Linked DNA regions of Homo sapiens: all the other regions are linked to region 1. The links are contacts of gene promoters, found by promoter capture Hi-C in human tissues and cell types (Jung and others, 2019). All regions are on one chromosome and are shown on one strand. The core of a region is centred on a gene start or on the middle of the fragment in contact, and the rest is flanking DNA. Distances in the headings are between cores, read along the strand shown.

Region 1 (4,040 bases), core at 1,403-3,902:
TCAAGTGGTGAGCTCGCCCAGGTGCTGGAGAGGGAGGAATCCAGATCCTAATCTCAGTGATTGCTGTCTTCAGCTAACCCTGAACTTAAGTTTGCTATGCTGGAGCTGGTCAGCTGATGTGCTTCTGTAGAAAAAAAGCACTTTATGGAGCTTTATACATCACAGGGTATCTGTTTTGGGAAAATAACTTGCAATAATTATTTTAAAAATTATATTGCCAAGGATAGGGCTCTTCCCATTTTCCTATTGAAAAACTGAATATAGAAGAATTAGCAAATGGATATGTGATATACATATCCATTGTATGCCTGCAGCAGGGTAACTGAGTCAGGAATCTAGAACTTGGATATAGTGAAAACCATTTATATGTTTATAAGTGTCTGTCAAAGAAGAGAAGTAGCAAATCATTTTAATTTCAAGTGCTTTTGTAGAAACTCAATATGACTTCTATCTTTCCAACCCTAGTCAATGAAAATCCCAAGTGAAATGGGAAATCCACTCGCATGGAGAAGTAATTTCTTTTTTCTTTTTCTTTTCTTTTTTTTTTTTTTGAGATGGAGTCTCAGTCAGTCACCCAGGCTGGAGTGCAGTGGCGCGATCTTGGCTCACTGCAACCTCTGCCTCCCGGGTTCAAGCAATTCTCCTGCCTCAGCCTCCTGAGTAGCTGGGATTACAGGCTTGTGCCACCACGCCCGGCTAATAATTGTTTATTTATTTATTTATTTATTTATTTATTTATTTATTTATTTTGAGACGAAGTCTCGCTCTGTCACCCAGGCTGGAGTGCAGTGGCATGATCTCAGCTCACTGCAAGCTCCACCTCCCAGGTTCACGCCATTCTCCTGCCTCAGCCTCCTGAGTAGCTGGGACTACAGGTGCCCACCACCATGCTCGGCTAATTTTTTTTTTTGTATTTTTAGTAGAGACGGGGTTTCACCGTGTTAGCCAGGATAGTCTCGATCTCCTGACCTGGTGATCCGCCCGCCTCAGCCTCCCAAAGTGCTGGGATTACAGGCATGAGCCACTGCACCTGGCCAATGGATGTTGGCTGTTTTGGAGATGCTGGGGAATTAACTTTTTTTTTTTTTTCTGAGTCAGAGTTTCACTCTTGTTGCCCAGGCTGGAGTGCAATGGCACAATCTTGGCTCACTGCAACCAAGAGAAGAGGGGGAAAGAAAGGAGAAGGGGTGGAAGGAAGATGGAAGAGCAGGAGGTAAGTATATCAGCTGCCCAGAAGGGCCTCAGGGGCTACACAGGACACAGTCCCTGCCAACCCCACCCCTTACCACAGCCAGGAGAGAATCAAGCCCAAAATTCTTCTCTGCAGCAGCTCCAAGAAAACTTTCCGCTTTGCCACCTGGAATGTCCACCCAGGATAAAAAGATCCAAGCTCTTCTGAGACTGTCTTTTGACCTTCTAGAATGCAGAGACAGGACGGGGATTGTGCCCTGAAAGATCCTCCCAATAAAGATCTCCCTTTGAGTCGACCACAGTGAGTGATCCCGGTGAAATCAGCGCTCAGGTGCTGGGGGCAAAAAGACCTGGGCCTCTGTGTTCCTCTCTTGAGTTCTTGCACTGTGGTGGGGCAGTTCCCATAGTGGACCATGGGTTTCTCTTTCAATAAGGAGAGCTCAGTGACATCCAATTCGACAGACATTCACTAAGGGGCCTAGCACCGCGCCTCACGCAGAATAGGTGTACAAAGCAGACACTCAATAAACTCAGAAAGGGAGAGGTGGGTTCCTGCTTGCTAAGACTTTATATCTAGCAGATAGAGAAACCATAACCATAGCACAAAGTAGAGAAAATGGGAGCTTTCAGAGCCCCAAGGGGCAGAGGAAAGAATGATGATTCAGGGCGCGTGGAAACTTCATGAGGTGGCTTTCATCTCCTCCCATCCAATAGACGGGTCTTAAGCATTGTTGAGTATCTCCAGAAAGGCCAAACTGCGCCGTATCCTCTGCTAATGGGGCACGTTGCCAACCCCGCCCTACCTAGGGTATCTTTATTGGTGGGCCCATGGACATTCCAGCCAGACCCCCCCACTCCCCCCACCCATTTAATCAGGAGGAATGTGCTGCCCCCTGGATCCTTTATCTTCACCCCCCTCCCCGCTTGGATTCAGGATGTGTTAGGGAGGCTTGCAGAAGACAGGGGCCGGGCTGTTTGACCAACCTGGTACAGGGTCTAGCACATAGCAGGGGTGGTAAATAAATAGCTTTGATGAGGACAGACGGGACTAGGGCAAGGCTCAAGGCCCAGGCCATGTAAGGCACAGGCCAGGCAAGGTGCTTCCGCCGCTCTTAACGGGGATTTGACCCGGAGAAGAGAGTTCTGTCGCCTGCGGCCCGCGCACCCGGGCCCCTCCGGGCTGCCCCTCCCAGGCAAATAGTCCTTCGGGGATGTGGATTGCGCCGTCCGGGCGGGTGGGCGGGGAAGAACACGGAGGGGGCCGGGACCCAAGTTCACGCCTCCCTCCTGCATCCCGCAGCCGGCGGAAGCGATTATTCCCCGGCGTCTGGCGGGGCCGGGGGCGGGCTCGCACCCGGAGGAGACACGGGTCTCCCCGAGCCCACCTTTGATCGCACCGCCCCGCCTTCCCAGCCCCTGGCCCGGGAGGGTATAAGTGCGGCCCGCGCCCCTCCGAGCGGCGCGCTGGGTTCCGGAGCGATGGCCACAGCCGAGTCCCGTGCGCTCCAGTTTGCCGAGGGCGCCGCGTTTCCAGCGTACCGGGCCCCCCACGCCGGCGGGGCGCTCCTGCCGCCCCCGAGCCCTGCGGCAGCCCTGCTCCCTGCGCCGCCCGCGGGCCCCGGCCCAGCGACCTTTGCGGGCTTCCTCGGCCGGGACCCCGGGCCGGCCCCGCCGCCCCCCGCCAGCCTGGGCTCGCCTGCGCCCCCCAAAGGCGCGGCCGCCCCGTCGGCGTCGCAGCGCCGCAAGCGCACGTCTTTCAGCGCCGAACAGCTGCAGCTGCTGGAGCTCGTCTTCCGCCGGACCCGGTACCCCGACATCCACTTGCGCGAGCGCCTGGCCGCGCTCACCCTGCTCCCCGAGTCCAGGATCCAGGTGAGGGCCCGCTGCGTTCGCAAGTGCGCGCTGGAGCGGAGGCGCTGCGGACTCTAGGTCTGGACTGCGGGCTCCTGAGGCCACACCCGGGACGTTGCAGGCACGGTGCTTCCCCTGAGGCTCTGCGTACTAGACTGAAATAGGGGGTGATATCGGCACCTGCTGCATAGGGTGGTTGCGAGGCCTGTGTGAAATAATTTAGGCCTGCACTGAACGATTTCTCTCATTATTAAATATAATAAGGGCTCCTAGGAGGCTAGCCGGTCCCCTGAAATGGCCAGAAAGTAATTCCCAGCAGGAAGATAAGAAGTTTTACACTTTTTCTTTATCCGGGAAGAAGACACAGATGAGGGGCAGTTGGGGTTTTCCTCTGGCTTTGAGCGTGAGAATGGTAGCTGAAAACGGGGAAGGCTGGCTCGCCAAGTTACCCCCATGCTACTTTCTTGGCAAGTGTTACGTTTTGGGATTAGATTTGAAAGGATGTAGCGAATTGAGATAAAGCGAGAAGCACCTGGAGCTTGTTTTCAGTTTGAAAAATCTAGTGCAAGGTGTGTTTATTTTTATTTATTTAGTTTTTATTTGAGATGGAGTTTTAACTCTTGTTGCCCAGGCTGGAGTGCAATGGCGCGATCTGGGCTCACTGCAACCTCCGCCTCCCAGGTTCAAGTGATTCTCCTGCCTCAGCCTCCCGAGTAGCTGAGATTACAGGCGCCAGCCACCACGCCCAGCTAATTTTTGTATTTTTAGTAGAGACGGGGTTTTACCATGTTGGTCAGGCTGGTTTCGAACTCCTGACCTCAGGTGATCCACCCGCCTCAAAGTGCTGGGATTACAGGCGTGAGCCACCGCGCCCGGCCGTGTTTATTATCTAAAGTAATTTAGATCAGAATCTTAGAGTTGGTAAGGAGAAGCCTGCCTTTTTGTCTGTCTGTAGCCCCGTGGTCGGTGTCCAAGCGCAGTTTTAAGTAGCAGCCCTC
Region 2 (4,535 bases), core at 1,184-3,683, 78 kb after region 1:
GAGTTTAATATTGGGAGAAAAAGAATAATGGAATAATTTTTAAGAATCACAAAAGACAAACAAACTGGGGTGTTCTGGAAGACAAATTGTCTTCTCAAGCTAGAAGGATTTAATTTGGTAAATCACCAATCCAAAGCACAATATAGTAGCTTTAAAGACTAAAAGTACTTTGAGAATATTTAGCTTGGTTCCAAATTTATTGACCTACCAGAATCTTAATCAAGAGGTAAAATTTTAAAGAAACTATGTTAAAAAGGTTAGTCTAATGTACCTGCCAAAAGAAATAGTGAGACCAAGGAACATGTCAAACTTTTTCTTAGAATGAGAAAAGTACTATTATTCTTTTATTTTTATTTCAAGACATTATTACTTAGAAAGCAAGATTCTTTTTTTTTTTTTTTGGAATTTGAGACAGAGTCTTACTCTGTCACCCAGACTCCCAGACTGGAGTGTGGTGGCGCGATCTTGGCTTACGGCAATCTCTGCCTCCCAGGTTCAAACAATTCTCCTGCCTCAGCCTCTCAAGTAGCTGGGATTATAGGCACCTGCCACCACTCCCGGATAATTTTGTATTTTTAGTAGAGATGGGGTTTCACCTTGTTAGCCAGGCTAATCACGAACTCCTGAGCTCAAGTGGTCCGCCTGCCTCAGCCTCCCAAAGTGCCGGGATTACAGGCGTGAGCCACCGTGCCCAGTGAAAGCAAGACTCTTAAAAATAAGCTATTACGGGCCAGGTGTGGTGGCTCATGCCTGTAATCTCAGCACTTTGCAAAGCTGAGGCAGCAGGATCCCTTGAGCCCAGGAGTTCGAGACCAGCCTGGGCAACAAAGTGAGGCCTCCTCTCTACAAAAAATAAAGAAATTAGCTGGGCATGGTAGCATGTGCCTGTGGTCCCAGCTACATGGGAAGCTGAGGCAAGAGGATCACTTGAGCCCAGGAGGTCGAGGCTACAGTGAACTGTAATCACATCACCACACTCTAGCCTGTGTGACAAAGCGAGACCCTGTCTCAAAAAATAAATAAACAAAAAATCTGCTGGGCACAGTGGCTCACGCCTGTAATCCCAGCACTTTGGGAGGCCAAGGTGGGCAGATCACTTGAGGCCAGGAGTTTGAGGCCAGCCTGGCCAACATGGTGAAATCCCGTCTCTACTGAAATTACAAAAATTAGCCAGGCATGGTGGCACATGCCTGTAATCCCAGCTACTCAGGGGGCTGAGGCAGGAGAATCGCTTGAGCCTGGGACGCAGAGGTTGCAGTGAGCCAAGATTGCACCGTTGTACTCCAGCCTGGGCAACAGAGAGAGACTGTCTCAAAAACAAACAAACAAACAATTATGCTAACATATAGGTCAGCACAGTCGTTTAACAAATGCTTTTAATCTAAATATTTATGGAATGTTTAATTAGAAAGGTTTTTAATCAATAATTTTAGAAATTTTTAAAAATAATTTCTAACAACTGAGGATCAATTCTCCTATAAAAGCATATTAATTTAAGGTTATCAGTGAAAACCAATACTGAAAAGCTACAATGAATCATAACTTAGAAGGAAAATGGAAACACTATATCCAGATTAATTTAACAAATTAGACTTTTAGCTATGGTATACCTAAAAATGCTATACTTCTTACCTTTTAAACTGACAAGGGCTTTTGCTGAAGAGCCTGCAATTAAAAATAAAACAAATCAATAATTATTTCATAACCAAAGTGAGAGAAAAAGACCTTGGTTTGGGGGTAAAAGTGATCCATTTAGTTTTAGTAATGTTGAGTTTGAAGAGATGGTGGAATGTGCAATTCGAAATATCTGGCAGACAATTCAAACTATAAACCAGAACTCAGATAAAGAAAGAACTGGAGAGAGACATATGAGAGTCTTGCTGAAGTTGTGAGAACTGGAGACCATTCCAGGAGAAGAAAGTGAAGAAACAGAAGAAAGAGGAAGAGTGGGGACAGAGGTAATTTTGGATCCTCATCCAGGCGTGCTGTGGTGCTGGAAGAAAAGAGAAAGGGAACCGACATCCATTGAGGCAAAGACTGATGTAGTAATGGAGTGGAAAAAAACAGGCAATGGAAATGATTCAGGGACTGTCAGAGCAAGCAATAAGTCCCTTGAAAGTCTAGAATGCAGGTATATGTGATACTTCAAGATCTAAGCTGGAAAAGGGAATACAGAATGGCCAAGAGGGGCTAGAATAAAGTTGGAGGGGTCCACTGGATAAAACAAACTCCAGTGTACATTAGAGGCCAGGTATGATGGCTGACACCTGTAATCCCAGTGCTTTGGAAGGCCAAGGTGGGAAGGCTAGCTTGAGGCCAGGAGTCTGAGACCAGCCTGGGCAACATAAGGAGATCCTGTCTCTAAAAAAATGTTTTTAATTCACTGGGTATGGGGGCACGTGCCTAAAGTGTCAGCTACTCAGGGGGCTGATGTGAGAGGCCTGCTGGAGCCTGGGAGGTTGAGGCGGCAGTGAGCTGTGACCGTGCCACTGCACTTCAGCCTGACAGACAGAGTACGACTCTGCCTCAAAAAAATAAAAAAGACATTAGAATAACAAGGAAGCTCCTCATACATGCAAAATCTAGACTGAATCTATATTATTAATAAACAACAGGGGATTCTGTTGCAGGTAACCCACTTTGAGAAACATCAGGCTACAGGTTCTGGTGTGAATGAATTATAGGATCTATGGGTAGGGAAAGTAGAAAAATCAATAGAGAGGCCGGGTGCGGTGGCTCACGCCTGTAATCCCAGCACTTTGGGAGGCCGAGGTGGGCGGATCACAAGGTCAGGAGATCAAGACCATCTTGGCTAACACGGTGAAAACCCGTCTCTACTAAAAACACAAAAAATTAACTGGGTGTGGTGGCGAGCACCTGTAGTCCCAGCTACTCGGGAGGCTGAGGTGGGAGAATGGCGTGAGCCCACAAGGCAGAGCTTGCAGTGAGCAAAGATTGCGCCACTGCACTCCATCCAGCCTGGGTGACAGAGTGAGACTCCATGTCCAAAAAAAAAAAAAAAACAAACCAATAGAGAAAGAAGCTTTTTGAGAGTGAGAAAGCACTAAATTTAAAAATCTCAGAATTGGATGTATACATTGCAAAGTCCAAGTCATCTGAAAAATAATAATTAAGGATGATCTCAGGGGATTAAATAAAAAAGAACATGAACTAGGAACAAAAATCAGAGAGGACGGATTAATCCTCCTTGCTATTTAACAAAAGCAGCTATGATTTACATCTCATATAAATGGATAACAGACTTAAAATGAGAAGCAACAGATAAAGTATGGCAGTTATGAAACACTTCATCTCAGATCCTTAAACACTATGCATCTCTGATCACTAAACCTCAACTGACTTTTTCCTCCACAGGTCTGTGTAAGAGACTTGTGAAACAGACACCTATTAGCATTAAAGACACTTACTTTCACTCTACTCTCTTGCCCAGATGTGAAGAATAGTTAACAGGACACCATAAAAGCTTCTGCATGGCAAATGAAGCTTAATGACAAAAGGCAGTAAAGTCATGGGGGTGAATGACATAAAATCTTGCTAAAAAGTCTCAAACAATGAAACACAACTGTAAAGCAGCAATAGTAGACAATACACACATCTGTGTACCAAAAGATATGCAGTGCATTTGAGAAAAAGTAGTAACCATTCACTCACTGAATATGTAGAGTACTGATGGCATGCCAGTCCCTACCTGCTCTAGGCAATGGGAATACAACAGCAAGCAAAATAGTCAAAGTCCCTGCTCTCATGGAATGTACATTCTAGTGATGGGAGGCAAACAAAAACAGCTATCGAGTAATGATAAGCACTCTGGAAAAAATAAAGCAGAAGAAGAAGAATACGCAGGGTGGGGATGGAGGGAAGGAAAACTATTTGTATATAAGGTGTTCATGATGAGCTTCTATGAAAGGTGATGCTTAAGCAGAGATCTGAAGGAAGAGGTATATAGGCCATAAGAATATCCACTCCTGCTCCACGAAGGCAGGAACCATATCTTGGGGATTCTGACCAATCACCTTTAACCTTTTTTTTCTTTTTCGTTTTCTTTTTTCTTTTTCTTTTTTTGAAATGGAGTCTCACTCTGTCACCCAGGTTGGAGTGCGGTGGCGCAATCTCAGCTCACTGCAACCTCCACCTCCCGGGTTCAAGAAATTCTCCCCACCTCAGCCTTCCAGGTAGCTAGGATTACAGGTGCATGCCACCATACGCAGCTAATTTTTGTATTTTTAGTAGAGACAGGGTTTCGCCATGTTGGCCAGGCTGGTCTCGAACTCCTGACCTCAGGTGACCACCCGGCTCGGCCTCCCAAAGTGCTGGGATTATAGGCGTGAGCCACCGCAACCGGTCCTTCTTTCCTTTTTCTAGATGCAGGATAGCATAGTGGTTAAGAAAACAGGTTCTAGATTGAGACTAGCTATGTTTGAATCTTGGTCCTGACACTTTCTTGCATGCTACCTTAAGCAAGTTACTTTGCCTCTCTGTGCTATTGTTTCTTCATGTGTAAAATGAGGATTAAA
Region 3 (4,418 bases), core at 571-3,070, 130 kb before region 1:
CTAAAAAACCACAAGAAAAACAAAACCCCACCTCCTTGAAGAGATCTTCCCTAGCAACCCCCACTCACCTCTAGAATAGATCCCTTCCACCCTGTTTTTCCTTCAGTGTGAGATTTCTAGATTTATTTGTCTGATTATTTGCCCCCAAGACCATCAGCTCCAGGAGGGCAAGGACTGTGTTCACTTTGCTCACTTCTGTATACAGCACCCAGCATCATGCCTGGCACAGAGTTTGGGAAGGGGACGATGATGATCCCTTGTCTGCACCTCAGAGAGGCAGCAGGGACTGTGGGCAGGGACCTCCAGGCCATAAGGAGCTGGAGGGAGTCCTAGAGGGTGGAGGGAGCGAAAGCAGGCCAGAGAGGCAAAGGGGCAGGAGACATGTGAGGGCATTCTAGGTGTGGGGAATGGCTTATGCCACTGTCCAGGTGCATGAACCTATCAGGGAGTTGGGGAAGACAAAACTCTTGGTAGTGGCTGTAGCAGAGCAATGGTGAAGGAGCCAGTCTGCCGCAGCCACTCTTCAGGACTTTGCTTTCCTGGGGCCAGGTTGCAAACAACCTTGAAGCTTGACCAGGGTATGTGGACCTTATCCTAATTTTTATGGGTTTTGTTTGTTTGTTTAATCAGAGACAGGGTCTCTCTATGTTGCCCTGTTTAGTTTCCAACTCCTAGACTCAAGAGTCCTCCTGCCTCAGCTCCCCAAAGTGCTGGGATTACAGGCATGAGCAGCCTGGCCTATTGGAGGTGGTGTGTGTTTGTTTGTTTGTTTGAGACAGAGTCTAGCTCTGTCGTCCAGGCTGGAGTGCAATGGCACCCTCTCAGCTCACTGCAACCTCTGCCTCCTGGGTTCAAGCAATTCTCCTGCCTCAGCCTCCTGAGTAGCTGGGACTACAGGTGCACACCACCACGCCCAGCTAATTTTTGTATTTTTAGTGGAGATGAGGTTTCATCATGTTGGCCAGGCTGGTCTTGAGCTCCTGACCTCAAGTGATCCGCTCGCCCCCGCCGCGGCCTCCCAAAGTGCTGGGATTACAGGTATGAGCCACTTTGCTTGGCCCCTATCCTAGGTTTTTAAGTAGGGAAGTAACATGATCAAGCTTGTCTTGCTCAGAGCTCCCCTCGGAGGAAAGGCTGGAGGAGGTGACTGAAGCTGTTGCCTTGAGGACCCAGTCTGGTCTCCAGCCTCAGTGCTTCAAGGACAGGGTCCTTGCTGTATAGAGCTACTGGTGATTCAGACACAATCCACCTTGTGTTGCCTGCGGCTGACCTCCACTGGCAGGTGCCCTCTCCCTCTACAGTGGAGGTGTATGCGCTCAGGCAATGCAGGCTCAGCCCAGCTGTGGTCCCCCTGGAGGCAGTGAGCCCTTTGAGAGGTCTGAGCCAGGGGTGGTGGTTCACACCTGTCATCCCAGCAGTTTGGAAGGCTGAGGCTGGAGGATTGCTTGAGGCCAGAAGTTTGAGACCAGCCTAGGGAACATAGCAAACCTATCTCTACAAAAAAAAAAAAAAAAAAAATTAGTCAGATGTGGTGGTGTGTTCCTGTAGTCCTACCTACTCAGGAGGCGGAGGTGGGAGGATTACTTGAGCCCAGGAGTCCGAGGCTGCAGTAAGCTAAGGTTGCATCATTGCACTCCAGCCTGGGCAACACAGCAAGACCCTGTCTCTAAGTAAATAAATAAATACATTTTTTTAAATTAAAAAAAAAAGAGAGGGAAATCCAAGCCAAATCCTCCAGGGGTCAAAGTCCTGCTGTCCTCCCCTGCTCTGCTCAACCCCAGCCTACCTCTGTGTGGGGTGGGGGTGTCGGGGGAACCCATGCCGCTGAGCAAGGAGCTCCCTCAGCTGGTCTATTAGTCAGGTGAGGCTAGGTTCTACCGCAGTAAATCAGCCCCAAACTTCAATGACTTCACACAACAAAGTATATTTCTCAATCATGTTATACGCTCAGTGCAGTGGAGAAAAGAGGATGGAAGGGCAGGGCTCTGTTCCACCTAGGGTCTCAGGGATCCAGGTTGCTAGAAGAGCCACCATCTAGACAATCACCAGTCACCATGGCATGGGAAGAGAGGGCATGGAGAACTTACACCTTTTGATCCAGTAGTGACACATGTAAACCAAAAAGTGACTGAGGCAGGTCTCAATTGATTAGAAGCTTATTTAACCATGATTGAGGATGCAAAAAAACCAACAAAACAAAAACAAGTCACAGAAGCATCTACAACCTGTGATTTTTCCAAGGAAGGTTTCAGGAACTTCAGTATTTGAAGGGGAAAGAGCAAGCAGAAGAGGAAAAAAAAAAAAAAAAAAACGGGGTAAGGGGGCTGGGCGTGGTGGCTCACGCCTGTAATCCCAGCACTTTGGGAGATCCAGGCAGGTGGAGCACCTGAGGCAAGGAGTTCGAGACCAGCCTGGCCAACATGGTGCAAACCTGTCTCTACTACAAATACAAAAATTAGCCAGGCATGGTGATGCATGCCTGTAATCCCAGCTATTTGTGAGGCTGAGGCATGAGAATCACTTGAACCCAGGAGGTGGAGGTTGCAGTAAGCCGAGATCGCTCCACTGCGCTCCTAGAAGGGTAGACAATGAGGCAAATGGATACAATCTTAGGTTCCTATTAGCCTTAGTGAATGTACCTTTTACATGTGAAACAGAGGACCAAGTCAATTATGCAAAGTCTTGGGGTAGGAGGAGGGATGATTTCTAGTCTTGTCCTTATCCTGTCCCTGTGAAGATAAGCTGATAATTGACATTGTCAGGGTGAAGTTTAACAGAACTTGATTTTAGAACTAGCTTATAGGGGAATGTGTATTCTGAAAGGTTTAGGGGCCCACAGGGAATTTCCTTGTGAACAATTTGGGAAATATGTAGCCTTCTATTGTTGTGGGAACCTGGCTTACGAATGAGGCTATGACACAGGATTGTGAAACTACCGCTATCTGTTTGGGAACAAAAGGAAGGCAGTTTTTCTGTGACTCAGTTCCCAAACTTAACTTTCCCTTTGGCATAGTGAGTTTGGGGTCCCAAGACTCTGTTTGCTTTCACATATAGGTCACACTTCCGATTATAGCCAATTGGCCAGCACTAGCCCACTGGCCAGCAGCCAGGGTTCTGGAAAGGTAGAAGAGCCCACGGGTACTCAGTGGGCAGTGACTGTCTGTTCAGCCAAGTGCAAGCCAGGTTGGAGAGCAGGTTGGCTCCTGCCTGGACATAGGAAGATGGATGACAAAGGATGCCCAGAAAGGTGTGGGCTCCTTCCCAGTTACCTCCAGCCTCCATCTGCTCTCTGATTCCTAGAGCACAGCTCAGAGAACATCAGTTCCACTTTCCCCCAGCTTACCCAAAATATAGCCCCTACCCATTCTGGCCTCAGCACAACGCTGCCTGATTTCTCTCCACTCTTTCTCCCCTCCCCTCCCCCTGCCCTCCCCATCTCCCCATACCTCCCAGCTCCAACCACACGAGGCTCCCCCTGCTCTGTAATATATACTTTATTTCCTTTACCCCTCCGGGAATGTTCTACCCCTCTCTGCTCACTAGAATCCCACCCATTCTTCCAAATCTAGCTCACTTATCACCTGGTCCATGAAGATTCTTCCCACAGAATATCCTCTGCTTCCTCTCACCTCACAGTCTCCTACAGATGAAATGCCCAGCCCACAGCTCCCCACTGAAGGGGCAGCCCCAGGCAGACCATGTGATCCCATTCCCTATCCCAGCCACAGTGAGGTGGATCCACACGGCCACTCTGTTGCCTGGGCAGTGGCCTATGAGGTGGGGCCTGGTGGGAAGGATGAGATGAGCTAGGTCTATCAAACTCTCTTTAGATAACTTTTTTTTTCTGGAGATAGGGTTTTGCTGTATCACCCAAGTTGGAGTGCTGTAGTGCAGTCAGGGCTCACTGCAGCCTTGAACTCCTGGGCTCAGGCAATCCTACCACTTCAGCCTCCAAAGAAGCTGGAACTATAGGCATGTGCTACCATGCCTGGCTAATTTTTTTAACTTTTTATAGAGACGGCGGGATCTTGCTTATGTTGCCCAGGCTGGTCTGGAACTCCTGGCCTCAAGCAACCTTCCCACCCCAGACTCCCAAAGTGCTGGGATTACAAGTGTAAGCCACTGTGCCAGCCAGCCAGTGTTTTCTTGCTGTGTCCTCAAAGAGAGAAAGGAACTAGTGAGCTCTCTGGGCCTTTCTTATAAGGTCACTAATCCCAGTCATGAGGACTTCACCCTCATCTCATCACTTCTCAAAGGGCCCACCTCATAATACCATCATTTGGGGATTAATCACCTCCTTTGAGAATGAAAGTTAAAAAAAAATTGGGGGTTAAAATTTCCACATACAAGCCAGTCATGGTGGCTCATGCCTATAACCCCAGCACTTTGGGAGGTGAGGTGGGAGGATTGCTTAAGCC

What was found. The method cuts DNA at HindIII sites, captures the fragments that hold promoters and counts their contacts. A contact is called where the count stands out against the background at its distance.
Region 2: a contact is called between a fragment that was not itself captured here and the fragment with the promoter of MIXL1 in region 1, in 3 of the 25 tissues and cell types used here (aorta, lymphoblastoid cells and mesenchymal stem cells).
Region 3: a contact is called between a fragment that was not itself captured here and the fragment with the promoter of MIXL1 in region 1, in 2 of the 25 tissues and cell types used here (IMR-90 fibroblasts and mesenchymal stem cells).

What each region holds. Positions count from the first base shown.
Region 1 is chr1:226,221,012-226,225,051 of GRCh38, forward strand. MIXL1 (Mix paired-like homeobox) reads left to right here and starts at 2,653. Exons shown (of 2, transcript NM_031944.3): 1 at 2,653-3,063. The coding sequence starts at 2,671. It overlaps LOC124904528 (a long non-coding RNA gene), which reads left to right and starts at 1,128. Exons shown (of 2, transcript XR_007066907.1): 1 at 1,128-1,213; 2 at 1,328-1,487. RefSeq lists an enhancer at 2,972-3,031 and a silencer at 3,077-3,371. The HindIII fragment of the contact is 15,954 bases long and covers 1-4,040 here.
Region 2 is chr1:226,299,541-226,304,075 of GRCh38, forward strand. It overlaps LIN9 (lin-9 DREAM MuvB core complex component), which reads right to left. Exons shown (of 15, transcript NM_001366245.2): 2 at 1,633-1,665. Among named protein-coding and RNA genes, the nearest start is that of LIN9, 7.4 kb to the right of the region's middle. The HindIII fragment of the contact is 3,558 bases long and covers 655-4,212 here.
Region 3 is chr1:226,095,205-226,099,622 of GRCh38, forward strand. No RefSeq gene overlaps it. Among named protein-coding and RNA genes, the nearest start is that of LINC01703, 14 kb to the left of the region's middle. The HindIII fragment of the contact is 4,552 bases long and covers 1-4,096 here.